Linked DNA regions of Homo sapiens: region 2 is linked to region 1. The links are contacts of gene promoters, found by promoter capture Hi-C in blood cells and fetal thymus (Javierre and others, 2016). All regions are on one chromosome and are shown on one strand. Each heading gives the region's core, a stretch centred on a gene start or on the middle of the fragment in contact. The rest is flanking DNA. Distances are from core to core; before and after follow the strand shown.

Region 1 (7,956 bases), core at 3,334-5,833:
CTTTGTGTTGCTGTTTTGTTATGAACGTGCTTGCTCTCTTGCGAGGCACCTGTCCATTCCACATCACCGAGGGGTCTACGAGAGCACTGCCAAGTGTTCCTGTGGACCAGCATGACCTCTCCACAGCCTGCAGTGAGCCCCAGCCTCTAATCTCAGGTGTCACTCATGCTACCTTATCCTAGCTCCGGTAAGGGAGCAGACCTGGAGAGAGGATGCCACGGCCAGCAGAACCTGGAGTTCCTGGTTATCATCTAGGGGCTCATTCGCTTACCAGAGCTTCTGTTCTCCTCAGCCCTGACAGTGTTCCCTGTTTGAACATCCAAGGTACCAGACACGCTGAAGAATGGCATTTGGGGTGTTCCATGGTGACAAAACTGTGTGCTCTGGTTTTCCTCCCTGGCCCACACTGTCCGCAGTACCTTCCTTACTTACTTGAGACAGGGAAGAAGACGGAATCTCACCCTTCTTCCCAGCTAGAGGGTACCTCCGCATCCCTTTCCTCCCCAACTGGCTTGAGTGGCTTCAAGCTCTAGCACTGCCTAACAAACAAACAAACACCTCAGTGACTTGTGATTTCCCCCCAGAAAAATATCTATTAATTATTTCCCAATGGTCTCCACCTCGGCATCAGGGCACAAGGTGTAGGCACATGCTCTGATCTTGCACCTAGGAAACCGTCATTATCAAGGGCATCCCCTAGTCCACTGTGCTCCCCGGTAAGTACTTCAGTCTAGAGGTTCAGTATCCCCCCACAAATCTCTAGGTATGACTGGACACGGGCCTGCTCTATTACCCATCACCCCTGAACGACCAGAGAAAGCCAAAAATCACAAACAACTAGGCAAAGTTCATGAGTAAATCCAAGGAAGGCTGCCTCCAACCCTCCATTCCAGTATTTGGACTCCCGGGCCCCTGGGAACCTGAGGCAACTCTGTCTCCCAACACTGGCTATCCCTGGGCTGAGTGAGGCTAGAAAGTAGGCCGAACCAGGAGCCTGGACAGATCAGGGGCCCCGAGACCCCCTGGCATCAACAGTGCACAGCTTCTCCTTGTACAAGACTACACAGCTGCTGAAGGCTACCTGCTGCCAAACATGCTGAGTGGGCACTCTGTCCCAAACAAACAGCCACAGCTCAAACTGATGATGATGGACACACACACGGTTTAAGGCAGAAAAAACCATCAGTAGCTGCTGACCACAGGCCTTGCGCTCACCCCATCCCTTCCTTTGCATGGGCTCTACTCAGGCTTGTGTGGCAGCGTCCACAGCCCAAACTGAAGCTTGCCTGCTGTCAGCCAAGATAAAAATGAGTGTAAGTAGAGTCCAGACTGAGCCTGAAGAATTGAGAGGCCGAGAGTGACCCATGCAGCAGTGGTGCTGGAAGGATGACGTAGGGCATTCGTGTACATGCACTAGGGATGTCTTCGATTCTTTTAGCTTGATTGATTAAACCAGGACTCTGAACAGGTTTAAAAATCCATCCTCTGTCAAAGGTTTTACTGACAACTTTCCATACAGTTGGTCAAAAAATAAAAAAATACAGAACCACAGCAGACAGTATCTTGTACACTAGAAATCAACATAACCGGATTCCCTTCTCATCGTTTAAAAAAAAAAATCCCCCAAAATCTAAGAACTTAGTTTTGGTGGTGGACAGGACTTTGATCCCCACCCAAATGAACCAAAATAACCCAGGAGATAATTCAAACCAAAGTGGTAGGGTAGAGAGGGGATCAGATTTTAAAATAACTGCTTTTGTGACACAAACATGACGCTGGGAAAGACAGGCTTGGGCTAGGCAGTGTCTCTGACGATGACTATCACCATGTGTTCTTCTTCTAGCTTGCCCAATGTCCTTAGTGCTGACTGGAGGTACTGCTGGGAAAAGTCGCAGGGTGGGAAGGCGTAGAGCATGCCTGTGCCGTCTCTGCCCTTGGACCCCCCCACTGGCAAGCTGATCACCCCTGCGGCCTGCTTCTGTTTCAAGTAGGAGACCAGGTTCCTGAGAAGCCGCCTCTGCAGACCGGGCTCTACTGTGGGCATCCCCTCAGTGCCAAGCCCACTGGGGGTTGCCTGGGTGGCTAAGAGGACCGCATAGCCGTTGGGGCTCCCCTGCTTGATGCGTCGTGTGACCTCGTCAAGCTTGGGCTGGTCCAGTCGAAGGCGCTGGGCGATCTTCAGCTGGGTCAGCTTGCTCCCAGAAGTGTGGTCTTTGAGGAGACTGCTGATCACCCCCTGGTCCCCCTCTAGGATATGCATAGACGTGGGGAAGCAGCTGTTTTTCAACACCAGAAGCCCATTCCAACCCAGCTGTAGTGTCTGAGCGTACTCTGAAAGATTCTTCAGCTTTTTGGTCTCGTGTTTTGGCTCTTCCAGAGGCTTGGGCTCGGCCTCTGTGGTCCGGTGATTGCGCTCGCTGTCTCTTGCCTTCTTCCCGTGGGAAGAGTCTGCAGCCTCGTGGTGGTGGTGGTGGTGGCCCCGTTCCTCAGCCCCATGTCTGCTGTTGCTGAGGGAGTTGCTGCTGGACTCCTTGGTCCCTTCACTGGAGTGGTTCTCCTTGCGGCTGCGCTCAGGGGTGCGGTCGGAGCCCCGCTCTGACTGCTGCCCACTGCCCTTGGTCCTACTCCGTTCCTCATATGGTGAATGGGTTGTCCTCCCACGGTCACTGGAAAGGCTTCTCCGTTTCCGCCTCTCTTCCCAGGGCTTGGGCAAACCACGGTCTCCATCTGCCCCCCAACGCTCACCACTCCGGCTGCGCACTGAGCGACTGTAGCCCTCAAGGCTGTTTCGGCGGTCAGAGCTTTTACTGGGGCTGGTCCAGTCCCCTTCCAAAAAAGTCCGGTCTCGGTCTGAGTACAGAAGGTGTGGGGGCGTCCTGTCCCGCACCAGGTCGGCGTCCAGGTTGCGGTGCCGGGTGTATCCATCTGTGAGCAGCTCATAATGCACAGGGAGTGGCGAGGGCTGGTACTGCTGGGGGTACCGAGTCTCCTCTGCTTTGGCAAAATCCACGCGGAGCCTGCGGTCTGGTCCACCCAAGGGAAAACCCCTCATTTTAGCACAGGCGGCCTGGGCTGCGTCCAAGCTCTCGTACTGAATATAGGCAAAGCTATCTCCTTTGACGTGATCAATGGTCCGAATGCTCCCAAAGCGGTCAAACTCTCGGGCCAGAGCCGCCAGTGACGTGTTAGGTCCCAGGCCACCCACCCAGAGACGAGTGGTGGGGTTGGCCTTGCCATAGCCTATCTTAATGGGGTTGCGACCAATCACTCGGCCCGACATGGCCACCTTAGCCCTATGGGCCATGTCCAGGTTCTGGAACTTGAGGAAGGCATAGGCACCGCCCTGGCCACGGGCAGGCCTCTTGATGACCACCTCCTCGATGATGCCATATTTCTCGAAGGCCCTTCGCAGCTCCACCTCAGATACGCTGTGGTCCAGGTTACCAATGAAGAGGTTGCGCGTGGCCCGCTGGTCATCCTCGGGCATCAGGTCCTCCTCACACACAGCTGGGTAGCCATAGGGGCGCCCACGGTCGTCGTACAGCCCGTAGTAGTCCAGGGCCCGCTCCCGGGACAGTCCCACGGCGGCGGCAGCAGCGGCATCCAGGGCGAAGGCTGCGGCGGCGTGACGGGCACGGGGCTCCCGCAGGGGCGGGGCAGCGACGGGGGACAGCGAGCGCTGCTTGTACTGGTAGCCTCCGTGTAGCGGGAGGTAGCCGAGCGGGTCGGCGGGCGCGGGCGGCCCTGGGGGAGGCGTGGAAGCGGCGGCGCTGCTGCTGCTACTTCGCCGACTGCTCCCGCCGCCGCCACGCAGGTACACGGGCTCTACCTTGAGCGGGCGGTCGTAGAGCAGCAGCTGCCGGGCCAGGGCGTGCTGGCGGGCCTCGCGTGCGTCCTGTGGGTGCCGGAAATTCACGTAGGCCACACGGCCCAGCTCAGGCGTGTGCGACAGGCGGAGGCTGATCTCGCCGAAGCGCTTGAACTGGTGGAAGAGCCGGTCCTCGAGGTGCTCGGCGGGCAGCGCGGGGCTCAAGCTGCTGATGAGCAACGTCTTGTACTCAGGCGCGGCCGCGGATGAGCCGGGACACGCGGGCTCGGCCCCAGGCGGTGGCGGAGGCGGCGGCAGAGGAGACGCGCGGGGCGACATGCCGGAGGCGCCCGGGTCCCCCGAGGCCTTGCCGCCGCGTCCCCCGCCGCCAGCGCCGGAGCCCGAGGAGCGCCCGCTACTCGCGCGGTGATTCGCGTCCCCGGTGCCGCGGCCGTCGCGATGCCCGCCCCCGCCGCTTCCGCTGCCGCGGGGTTTGTCGCGGGCCCGCGCTGGAACCGGGTGCTTGGCGCCGCCAGAGGCCTTGTGCGCCGCCCGCCGCCCGCCCGCCTCCGCCTCCCGTTCGCGCTCCCGCGGACGCTTGGCGGACGATGACGAGCCGCGCCCGCTCGGGCTAGAGTCTCGCTCGCTCTGCCGCTTCATGGCGCTGGCGCGGCGGGCGGGCGGCCCGTAGGTTTCTCACAGCGGCGGCGGCGGAGGCGGCGGCCGAGGAGGCAGCGCCCCCGGCGCCGCCATCTTGGACAAAAGGACTCGGCGCGGCGGTGGCGGCGGGGCGGGGCGGGAGCGGCGCCGAGGGGCCGGGCATTGCGTTATCAAGGTGCGCCGTCCTGCCACGTGACTCTGCGGCGGGCGGAGCAAGACCCGCGCCGGGCCTGCCTCATCGCGCTGCGTCGCCCAGTGCCAGGTGACCCTGTGAGTGCTGGGTGAGTGGGACCGGCCGCGCGCTCTGGCGCCACCGCGCGGCCCGCATGGCCGATGCTTGAGGCTACGCGGAGTGTAGTGAACCCTGAGAGGCCGGCGAGACGACCTAACGCTTTGTGCTCCCAGCCGTGCTTTGCCGCTCTGGGTCCAGCTATCTCCTCTTGCAGGCACTGGAGCCCGCGCTGATTGGAGCAGGAGTGGCAGCTTCCATGGCCGTTGGGATCTGGGGCATTGACCCAGTCAGTGGTCTCTTTATGTAGTATCCCCTCAGTCCTAGGACTAGGCTTGAGCAAACCCCACATCACCCTCGTTGGCATCTCCTGCCTGGGATCCGGCGTTGACGGCGCCAAGGACTAATGCATGCCTATCCTTAGACCCTGCCCAGGACCCAAGGCCCACATTCTGCGCATTCTCCACGTGCAGGTTCACCTGCAGCAGTCCCCGAAAAGGCCGTGAGGACAATTGCTGTCACGCAGGTAATAACCGAAAGCAGAGACAAGCCTGCAGTTGCAGTTGATGGAGTTGGAATAGACTCTTTAACGCCACTCTTGGGTCCCACCCTCTTCTGTGGGCAGATAGCAGGCTGGAAAGGTAGGGCCGTAAGAGCCAAGGATGAAGAGGCCATATGCACAGATAGTGCCAGCAGTTATCACACCTTGCCACGCTGACCCCTCGCTGGCCAGTACCCTCCTGTTCATCACCTTCAGGACGACCTCTTCTCCCCAGGTGAGGTGAGGGAAAGGGTGCCCAGGTGCTCAAGCCCATTGAGGAAGCTTTCATTCTCCAAGGACAGTTGCTGGAGCCATGGTAGAACCTGACCCAATTTCTGGCACAGAATCCTTGCGATGGGGAAGAGCAGACCAAGTCATGCCCTCTTCGCACAAAGAGAAAGCAGCTCCTGGAGTAGCTCAGGCAGGTGCAGGGGGAAAGGTCTTGGAAGAAAGCAATGGGTTCCACAGCAGCAAGGCCTCCTACAGGCAAACTGAGCTTAGGAGACACAAGTGAAGTGATCTGAGGCAAGACCAATTACTTGGAAAGCACTGGTTCTTAGTCCGTCCTTTCAGGTGGTTTCTACAGGTGTCTTCATTGAGCCACAGCTCACACTAACAACTGGGTTTCCTAAGCACCAGTGCCACAGAGAGTGGCTTAAGAAGCAGACTCCAGCAAAACCCTGGACCTCAACTGTTAGACTAATCTAGGGTAAACAAAGGCAAAAGGCAGCTTCCCACTCCCTCTTTGTATAAGCTGACTCCTGCCAGACTTGCAAAAACTGGAACAGACATCAGAGGCTTGGAATGGACAAAAGAGCAAGTAGGTGGCCAGGCCAACAGCATCTTTATAGAGATGTCAGTGCTGACGTGCACTGATTGAAGATATCCTTGTGGAAAAACCACACTCCAGACACCCTGTCTTGCTTGTACTGAGCCACAATATAAGGCCCTCCAATGTATCCCAGACTCACTCCTCCTAGAGCTGTGGCCTCCAGCTCTCTTGGGCGGGTAAGACAGATACTGTATCAAGGGGCAGGGTATCAAGCGCAGCACCCCCCGCCCCCGCCACCTCCTTTCTGCTGAGTGCCTGCTGCCCTCTAGTGGTACACACCCACACACATCAGCTGGCCCCAGCCCCTATGTCCTGCTCTGGTATTTTCAGCACTGGTGGGTTGAGAGATAAATGGGAATGAATAACCCCCCAAACTCTGCAACTGGAAAGCAGAAACTGGTAGGAGCCTCCTGGGGCAAAACCCCATTTTGGTATTCACTATAATTCTGCAAGGACAGCTAGAAATTTTTTTTCTTTAATAAAAAAATCCCAGACACACTTTGAAGTCCTAGAGTACACCAGCAACAGAAGGAAGGGAATCCCCTCATGGGGGTACTGTAGGGCCAGCATCATCAGGAAAGCTCCAGGCTTCACATCTGATACAGTATTGTCAGGAGCCCACTTAAAAAATAAATTACAAAAAGGCTGTTTTGGGAGTAAGCAGTTGAACTGTTTTTTCCCCCTCAGGTGCAACAGAGATTGAGCAGACTACAAATCGGTCCGTGCACTGGCTGCCTTGGGGGCATATTTAGGCATCAGTTCATTTATCTTCCGGATGTAGTCAGACTTTTCTGCACAGCCTTTGCATGTCTCCCCCCAGTCATCCAGAATCTTCTTCAGCTCTTTAACTCGGAGCTTCTTCAGGTCCACTGTGCTCAGGTCGATCTGCTTGTCTGGAGGAGAGAGCAGGGAGAGTCACTGACTGGGTGGAGCACCTGCAGTCCCCCAGTAGTCCCAGAGTATGTCACTCCCTGAACGGCCAAACCAGCCCTACTGGTTTCAGAGGAAGAGACATTTCCAGACACATTTACAGGCATGTCAGTGCCTACTGCCCCCACAAGAGGGAACTAGCCTCTTCACCAGGAAGGCTGGCTACATATTATGTCTACTACAGATATGCAGCGTGAACAAGGATAGGGACAGAGGCCACACTGTCCTTATAGGAGAAACATGGTTCCCATCTTCCAAGTGCCTCTGACATAGTCACCACATACTAACAACTCCAGGCTGGTGCCAAAGAGCAGCCCTGCTCAGGCCTTTGAGTTAGGAACTTACTCTCCATGACCACAGTGACCTGGAGCCAACTGGACCTGTACCAGGAAGACGCAAGTAGGTGAACACAGGTCCTTGGCCATTCAAGTTTTTCAGAAGAGGCCCTGACTGTTTCTGAAGACTGGGACTATGTACACCAGAGACCCAGTCAGCAAGAGAGATGCTGTAGTTCCTAACTCTTGGGCTTGCATGCTTGGACATAGTGTTTCTTTTCAGAATAGTAAAAATCACTGGGGCTTCAGAGCTTGCAGCCAGAACCAGCCTGTTAAACCCAAGTCGTACTATGTCCCTTCTCTGCTGAAAAACTCCTAATGCTCCTAACTTCACGCAGATTAAAAGCCCTCACCAGCCTGCAATGCTCTCTGACTTGCCATGCCACTGGACACCTTTATCCTGCCTGTATCCTCTTCCATTAGCTGGCCTCTTGGCTAATCCTCACCTCCTTCAAAGTTTGCTGAAATATCACTTCTTCAATAAGGCCTATTCTGACCTCCACCCACTTCCATGCCAGAGCCCTCCAGCATTTAGCACCATCTGTCATACAATACAACCCACTCATGACTCTAGCTCATCATTTTCCTCTCCCAGATGGGAAACAAACCCAGAAGGTGCAC
Region 2 (7,956 bases), core at 3,541-6,040, 410 kb before region 1:
CTTCCTTCAGAGGCGATTTACATTTGCTTCTGGTAGGTGACTGGAGCATTAGCAATCCTGGATCACTTTAACCCAATTTCAGAGATTAAGATGTGAAACAGGGCTTCCACCATGGGAAATGTTAATGGCCTATTTTAAATCCACCTTTCTCTTGGTATGGTATAGCCCTCTTGGCTTCCACTGTTAAATATTGGGGATTTACTAGTGTGCCCCTATCCTTAGCAGGCCTGGTCTCCAACTTTGAAGCCTCCTTACACAGAAACTGTCAAAAATTCTGCCCAAAATTTCAGCTCCTTGGCTTTCTAGCTGCCTTCTCACCACCTCTCCCACTCCCTCTACCACTACCCAGGAAGATGAGGAACCAGTTACCAATGTTTACTGATCAGGGTGACCCTTTTTATTTTTGGGAGGAATCCTGTGTGCCTCCACACAGGAGGCACAGCTCAGCATCCTCAGGACACTTAAGTATCTGATAGTAATAATCTGGGTTTCTCTTTTTTATATGGAACACCTACTTACCTTCTGCTTCCGTTAAAATATTTCTTCAACTTTCTGGGTCTCAATTATAGTTGCCTATGCATTTCTGTAGAGTTGATTTTATAGAGAAGAGATAGATTTGCATAAGATACGGTTATTTCTCCTTTTGGCTTATAACAATGACATCCACAACCCTAGCTTCCTAATCAGTCTCAGAGTCTATGAATTTCCAGGGTCCCTCTCATCCTGGGATAGTCATGGGATACTTCTGCCAACTGGGTAGATATGGCTATGTTTCCTATACAATGGCAAATGCCCAAAGCTTGTTTCTAGATGGTTCAGTCACCAGGCATGGGTAAAAGTGATGAAAAATCATGAGATCGAAAGTGACTACAGCCCAGGGTTAGGATGCTGGCCGCATAATTGAGTCTTCTTCAGGGAGAGGCTCTGTGGACAGGAATGCAACAGTTGTCTGTTTCCCTCCTGTCAAAGATAGGATAGGGGTGTAAGTAAAAATACGTGAAACCTGAATCCCATCACTTACCAAGTTCTCCTCTGTGTGGTCCGTGCACAGTTCTTTCCTGATACAGTCTTTTATGAAAACAGAAAGGTCGGGCTTGGTAGCTCATGCTTATAATCCCAGCACTTTGGGAGGCCAAGGCAGGTGGATCATTTGAGCCCAGGTATTCAAGACCAGCCTGGGCAACATGGCAAAATCTCATCTCCACAAAAAATTTAAAAATTAGCCAGGGCATGGTGGCACACACCTGTAGTTCCAGCTACTCAGGAGGCTGAGGTGGGAGGATTGCTTGAGCCCAAGAGGCAGAGGTTGCAGTGAACCAAGATTGCACCACTGCACTCCAGCCTGGGCGACAGAGTGAGATCGTCTCAAAAAGAAAAGAAAAGAAAAGAACAAAAAAGAAAGGACCAAGGCCACATTGCTCTTGAGGGCCCTCTCTGTACCCTCTTCTCAGGCCCTGACTGGCCCTGGACATGCGTCCCTTGGCCCTGATCCTTTGTCCTTGGGTCTGTTTTCCTTTCTGTCCTTTTGTGGCACTTGAGGATTTATCTCACATCAAATCTAGATGCTGCCTAGCTCTCCAGCTCTCCTCAATGCTTCCCAGGGAAGCAAACTATTCCTCTTTATTTTCAAGGTTTCATACATGGGGAACAAAAAAAAAAAGTGGGCATTGTAACGAAGTTTACAGCATTCATATAGTACTGATTCCCAAACCCTTGCTCCTTACTGCACATGAGACAGTATAGGAAACCCAGGTATTCACATGCTTGTTTTAATATGTCAGGGCTGATGCATCTGTTTCCTTCCAGAGGAAGCCAGAAACCTCAAGATTAGCTGTGACAACCAGCACCAGGGGGAGGGACAAGTCCCACTAGGACTTCCTGGCAGACCAGGTTCTCCTGGACTTCACCCACCCATCTATGTGTCCACCATGGCACTGTGTCATAGCTGTGGCAAGACATTCAAAAGGAGATTTTACTTTATTTCCCTTTATTACAAGAAGGATGGCTTTTCTTGGGCTAGCTCACATGATGGACGGCCAATACAAGATCAACACAAGGAAGAGGGCGTTCTGGAGATGCAGGTTTAAAAAGTCATAAAATGGGCCGGGTGCAGTGGCTCGCACCTGTAATCCCGGCACTTTGGGAGGCCAAGACAGGTGGATCATTTGAGGTCAGGAGTTTGAGACTAGCCTGGCCAACATGGCGAAACTAAAAATACAAAAATTAGCCGGCATGGTGGCACGCACCTATAATCCCAGCTACTCGGGAGGCTGAGGCAGGAGAATTGCTTGAACCGGGAGGCAGAGGCTGCAGTGAGCTGAGATTGAGAGATTGCACCACTGCACTTCAGCCTGGGCAACAGAGCAATACTCTGTCTCAAACAAACAAACAAGTCATAAAATGGAGCATCTGAAAGACTTGAATGGAATGCAAGGTAGCTCTGGGACTCCTCAGGACTTTAGTGGCATTCACTCTGGGCTGGTCTCTCCAGTTTGGCTAACTTTTTTATGCTCTAATTGTTCTTGTTACTACCATTTTTTCATGATCTCCATTGTCTTTGTTTTCTCTGCCTTGTAACATTGATGGCTTCATAATTTTGGCTGGTCATGACCACTATGACCCCTCATGCATCTATGCATATGATCCTCAGCTCTGCCACTCTCTGCCCAATTGTCTCCATTTACAATTCATACGTGTGTGTGTGTATGTGGACAAGATTTTTCAAATATCCTATTACCATTTTTCTGTCTCCTTGATCCATGAGTGTCTGAAATAGGTATAAATGTAGAATTATCTACTTTGTAACTTTGTAATTTTTTTTTTTTTTTTTTTTTGAGATGGAGTCTCACTCTGTTGCTCAGGCTGGAGTGCAGTGGTGCGATCTCAGCTCACTGCAAGCTCCACCTCCTAGGTTCACGCCATTCTCCTGCCTCAGCTTCCCGAGTAGCTGGGACTACAGGCACCCGCCACCATGCCCGGCTAATTTTTTTTGTATTTTTAGTAGAGACGGGGTTTCACCGTGTTAGCCAAGATGGTCTTGATCTCCTGACCTCGTGATCCGCCCACCTCAGCCTCCCTAAGTGCTGGCATTACAGGCATGAGCCACTGTGCCTGGCCCTTTACTTTGTAATTCTATCAGCCTTTTTATTTTCATATTTTGAAGTTATGTTGCGTACATAAAAATTCCCAAGTATTATAGCATCTTAGAGTAGTGTTCCTTTCATTGGTTTACAACTAGAATTGGTAAAGTTTTTCTATAAAGAACCAGGTGGTAAAAAGTTTAGGCTTTGACAACCATTCAGTATCTGTCACAACTACTCAACCCTGCCATTGTAGCTCAAAAACAACCACAGACTATATGTAAACAAAGGGGAGTGATTGTGTTCCAATAAGATGTTATTTCTAAAAACAGGTGGTGGGTTCAGCTGGCCTGCAGGCCATAGTTCGCTGATTCCTTGATTCCTTTTAAGATTTAAATTATATTTTGTTGTGGTAGTTTTCTTTGGTTGGAAATTTGCCGGATATATCTTTTTTCTATCCTTTTGTTTTCAAACTTTCTGTGTTACTTTGTTTTAGATATATCCCTTATGAACATTATATAGATCTATTAAATGTAATCTATCAAACTGCTTTTTAATTATCAAGTTTAACTCATTGAACTTATTGTGATTACTGATCTATTTGGACTTATTTTCATCCTTAGTCTGAAGATTCAGGTCTGTCCCACCACTGGGAGGGTAGGCTAGACTTCAAATTCAAGACACGACAGACTTTAATCTAGCACTATGTTTCCTTAGCCCTGTAAAAGATACAGGTCAGGAAATGAGCTTCACTCTCCTCAGGAGTCCCAGCAACTACTTAGAATGCAGATTCTGATTCCTCCCTAACCCCACCCACAAGGGGCAAGGAGGTGTGTAAACATCTGCCAGGAACGAGGTCCAGGTGTGTGCAGTTCCTCTTGCCACAGGGAGCCACTGCCTCATTTTTCCACTGGTCTTTTTTATCATGCCAGTCACACACGCACACCATCAGCATTACAACTTACAGCTCTCCCAGTTCAGAGGCTTCACGGTAACCGTGACAGATAACTGACCCCCAGTACGTGGCCTTCTGTCAAGCACACACAAGGCACACAAGAGAAAACGAAGGCCAAGGTCTAACCGATCCAATCGAGCCACTTCAGACTGATTGTTTCAATTACTCACATAGATAGAAAAAGGAAGATTAGTCAAAAGTGCCAGCTCCCTGTGGTTCTTGTCTCACACAACAAAAGGAACAACACAAAAGGGATTCGATGACTACAAGGCAAGTCGTGGGATACCCTGTTGCTGTTGAGCCAAGGGGGTCTAGACTGCAGCTATGTGGTTTTATATTCTGTAGCTCTATTCTGAGGGGCACGAGGCAGAAAGCCCCACACCTCATCAGGACTGGAGAGGAGAGAGAAAGCTGTCTCATGACAGCCTCCCAAGGGAGATAAGGGCCTCAGAGCATGCCTTACAAGCCTCCCATCCTCTTCTGTTCCAAGGGGGATCAAGAAGTGTTCTGCCAAGACTCAGATTAGCTGTGGTTCAAGCCTTCGCCTTTGCAGGGGGTGTAGATATATGCAAGGTTGCCATGGCAAAGTCATTCCCCTGCAACTCCATCCCTTGACATTCATGTGTCCTACTAAGAATTCTCAGGAGTGTGGGTCACCCCATCAGATACCCTAATTCATTATACAGATTAGGGCTTGAATAAGTGCGTTTTGTTTGTCATAGACAATGAGGTGTGTGACCATAACAATGACTCTTAATACTGTGATCAGGCTGACTTAGAGTACTGACTGCAGCCAGGCTTTCCATCTGGAGCCAGGCTAGCTAAATATGTCATGAAACCAGATGCAGCAAGAGGTGTTGGCACACACCCCCACCTCAACTGGCTAGCAGGAAGCCCAGGACAGCGCCATTGCCCATCACCACTTACACTACAAAGTTTAGAACAATTTGTAGACTGTTAAAAAAAAAAAAAAGAATCTAACAATAACAAAATGAGGCTAAAGGGAATCATATCAATGTCCAAAAAGGTTAATCTTGTTTTGTCATCTCCAGTGGAGGCTGTTTCTTTCTGGCTCTTGGGAGGTTTCCAGAGTTTTTAGATTAAGATTCTTCAATGAGAGTGGTGGCCGCAATTAAGTGGGGCCCGATGACCTACAGACAGGAGCTGAGAGAGATAGATGGTCCCTTCCTCCACCTCTGACGTTCAGGGTCTAAAGTGCTGTCTCTTGTTTAGCTTAGTTCAGCCAGAATCCAGTTCAGCAGGTTCTCCCCTCTGTACCCCATACTATCCTAGAACATCTCCCACCTCCTGACAGGTGGGCTGCAGCAGAACCACCGTAGGCACTGTTACCTCATATTGATGATCTGACTCTTTCGAAGAAAATGGTCTCAGAGAAAACCTGAAAATCACCTTTAGAAGCAGGAAAGGATGCAGGAAAGTTCCAGGCCTGCTTTTGCCCTTGACTCACAGGGTCCTCCCTCACTGCTGGAAAATCTTCAACCGTTCTCTCTAGGAATTTCACATCTGTAGGCCACATCTTTCTGACTCCAGCCCCTATCCCTCTCCCCCTCCCTTACTCTGCTCTGCCGTACCGGCCTCCTCCGTGTTCTTCAAACATGCTGGGCACGTTCCTGCTTCAGTGCCTTGATGACTGTCTCCCAGGTGGCTGCTCAACCTCCTCCCTCCCTCCTTCACCTCTCAGTGAAGTCTTCTCTCACCACAGATAAAATCAAGACCTCCTCTCCATGCCAGAATACTCTATCTCCCTTCCCTGTTTGATTTTTCTCTATAACAAGTATTACCATCTCAACATTCTCTATATCACTGCTACTTAAGTTCAGGAATCTTGCCTGCCCTTTTCACTGTTGGGAGCCCAGCCCCTATAACAGTGTCTGGCACATAGTCGGTGCTCAATAAACAAGCATTGAGTGAATACATTTGGCCTAAGCCAGTTAAATAAACCTCACCCACACCCACAGCACAGACTACTCAGCCTTAGGCCACAGACAAATGCCTGCCCTTGGCCACAGAGCCTAGTCATGGATTTCAGGCTACACTAAGCTCAAAACTTTTGTTCAAAGATTTGTTCATTGATTCAAAAATTATTGAACCATGCTATGTGTCAGGTACTGTCACTGGTATTTATTAAATAAAAGAATAAAACAGGCAAAGCCCTCTCCACATAAAGGTCACATTCTGGTAAGAGAGACAGGCCAATATATGTGCTTTCCATGAACTGGGAGAGATGATCATTTGTGACTGTGCTGCACTGACAAAGCATGTATGGATCGCATTGTCTAGTTCTAACAATGCTAAGCCTTACCAGCACAGGCAAGGGGATTAAAAAGATTTCCACAAAAACCCCTAGGCTGAAATGCACAAACAAGAAACCCTGGTGCTGATATTTTTCTCTCCCCTAGAGGGAGCTCCTCATCAGTCAAATTAAGATACTGTGGAAATGCTTTTAGAAAACAGATGTTTGAAATGTTTCCTTCTTTATGTGATTCTGTTGCCAAAAGGAATGTGACTCACTCATAACAACTCTCTCAGTCGAACACCTAAAACTTTGGAAATAGAATTTCCTCACCTACTTATTACTTACAAAATCATTGTATTGGTTTTGGACCCAGTTGTTAAAAATATAAAAATGCAACAACTTCTGACTGGTTTATAGAACAACTGATTATCATTAGGGAATATGAAATTTTTTTCACCAGACTTCAATAAAAACCTTTGCATAATTGGTGGATGCAACTGGAAGTGAATGTCTTGAGTTGGAAGACAGAGCCAATCACGCCATCTTCCCTCTGCATTGCAGGTCTTTGTGAGGGTCTTTTCCAGTTTCAACAGCCATTACAACCAACATCCAGGAACCGAGTTTAAACTTCAGACCAACAGGTCACTGTAGGACAAAAAGTTAAATCCTCACTCTCCCATGCCTCCTCCCTCCCCAACAAAAAACATAAGAGGAAAAACTAAACACCAACTCTCTGTTGATGTTCTTTGACATCAACAGACAGTTCATAGAAAACAAAACAGCTGGGGAAAGAAAGACTCTGAACATATGCAAGGATGCTCAACTTACCCATAAAAAAAAAACAGATTGATAACAGGTCCTTTGTGTTGGCAAGGATAGAGAGAAACAGGCAGTATTATATGTTGTTGGTCAAAATGTAAACTGGCAAAATTTCTTTGGATAGCAATTTGACAATAGCCATCAAAACTGAAAATGTACAGACCCCTTGATCCAGCAATTCTACTGTAGGAATTTTTCTAACCAAAAAATCCCCAAAAGTTGGCACCCTTTTAATACTAAAATAAGATGAGAACAGTGCAAGAAGAGAAAACTATCAGCCAATCTGATTTATGAACACAGGTATAAATATTAACAAACTGAATCCAATGGTGATTTCAAATAATGCTTGAATGAGTAGGATTTATTCCACAAATGCAAATATGTTAGTCATTCATCTTAACTACAAACATAAACAGATCCATATTTACTTAAGCAAAATAGAAGTGTATTGAAACAATATTTAGTAGCTCACCAAATTATCAGAAAGCCCAGGGACCAGGCTCAGAAAACAGGCAGATCAAAGAGAAGTTATGCACCCAGAACCACAGAAAACATCATACCACAGAACCAGCCTGCTGAGGATTCCAGCACCAACACAGGGGTTGCTATCCTGGTTCTCTGGATCCCAAGCTGCAGACTGAAAATTCTCAGCACACAAATTTGATTGGCCAATCCTGGTCACATGTCTGTCCCAGCAGCCAGGGGAGCTGAGAAAGTGAGAAACTGGTATTTTCAGCTCTATAATTAGAGGCAGGCTGTTTCCCACCCAGACAGATAAGAAGGAGAGTCCCCAGACATGGGGAAGGGAATCAGGTGTGTTTGGGCTCAGAAAACAACACCCCCAA

The links. The method cuts DNA at HindIII sites, captures the fragments that hold promoters and counts their contacts. A CHiCAGO score of 5 or more calls a contact.
Region 2: a fragment that was not itself captured here is called in contact with the fragment with the promoter of RBM15B in region 1 in 6 of 17 cell types (naive B cells, total CD4 T cells, naive CD4 T cells and 3 more); the score reaches 8.0 in naive B cells.

What each region holds. Positions count from the first base shown.
Region 1 is chr3:51,387,912-51,395,867 of GRCh38, reverse strand. RBM15B (RNA binding motif protein 15B) reads right to left here and starts at 4,583. Exons shown (of 1, transcript NM_013286.5): 1 at 1-4,583. The coding sequence starts at 4,468. The coding sequence ends at 1,796. MANF (mesencephalic astrocyte derived neurotrophic factor) reads right to left here. Exons shown (of 4, transcript NM_006010.6): 4 at 6,471-6,963. The coding sequence ends at 6,779. It also overlaps a transcript of DCAF1 not described here. RefSeq lists enhancers at 2,061-2,568, 2,569-3,074, 5,060-5,109 and silencers at 3,970-4,029, 4,140-4,219, 4,260-4,739. The HindIII fragment of the contact is 3,377 bases long and covers 2,146-5,522 here.
Region 2 is chr3:51,798,592-51,806,547 of GRCh38, reverse strand. It overlaps LOC105377087 (a long non-coding RNA gene), which reads right to left. Exons shown (of 3, transcript XR_940838.2): 3 at 526-960. Among named protein-coding and RNA genes, the nearest start is that of IQCF6, 23 kb to the right of the region's middle. RefSeq lists an enhancer at 3,937-4,688. The HindIII fragment of the contact is 7,978 bases long and covers 802-7,956 here.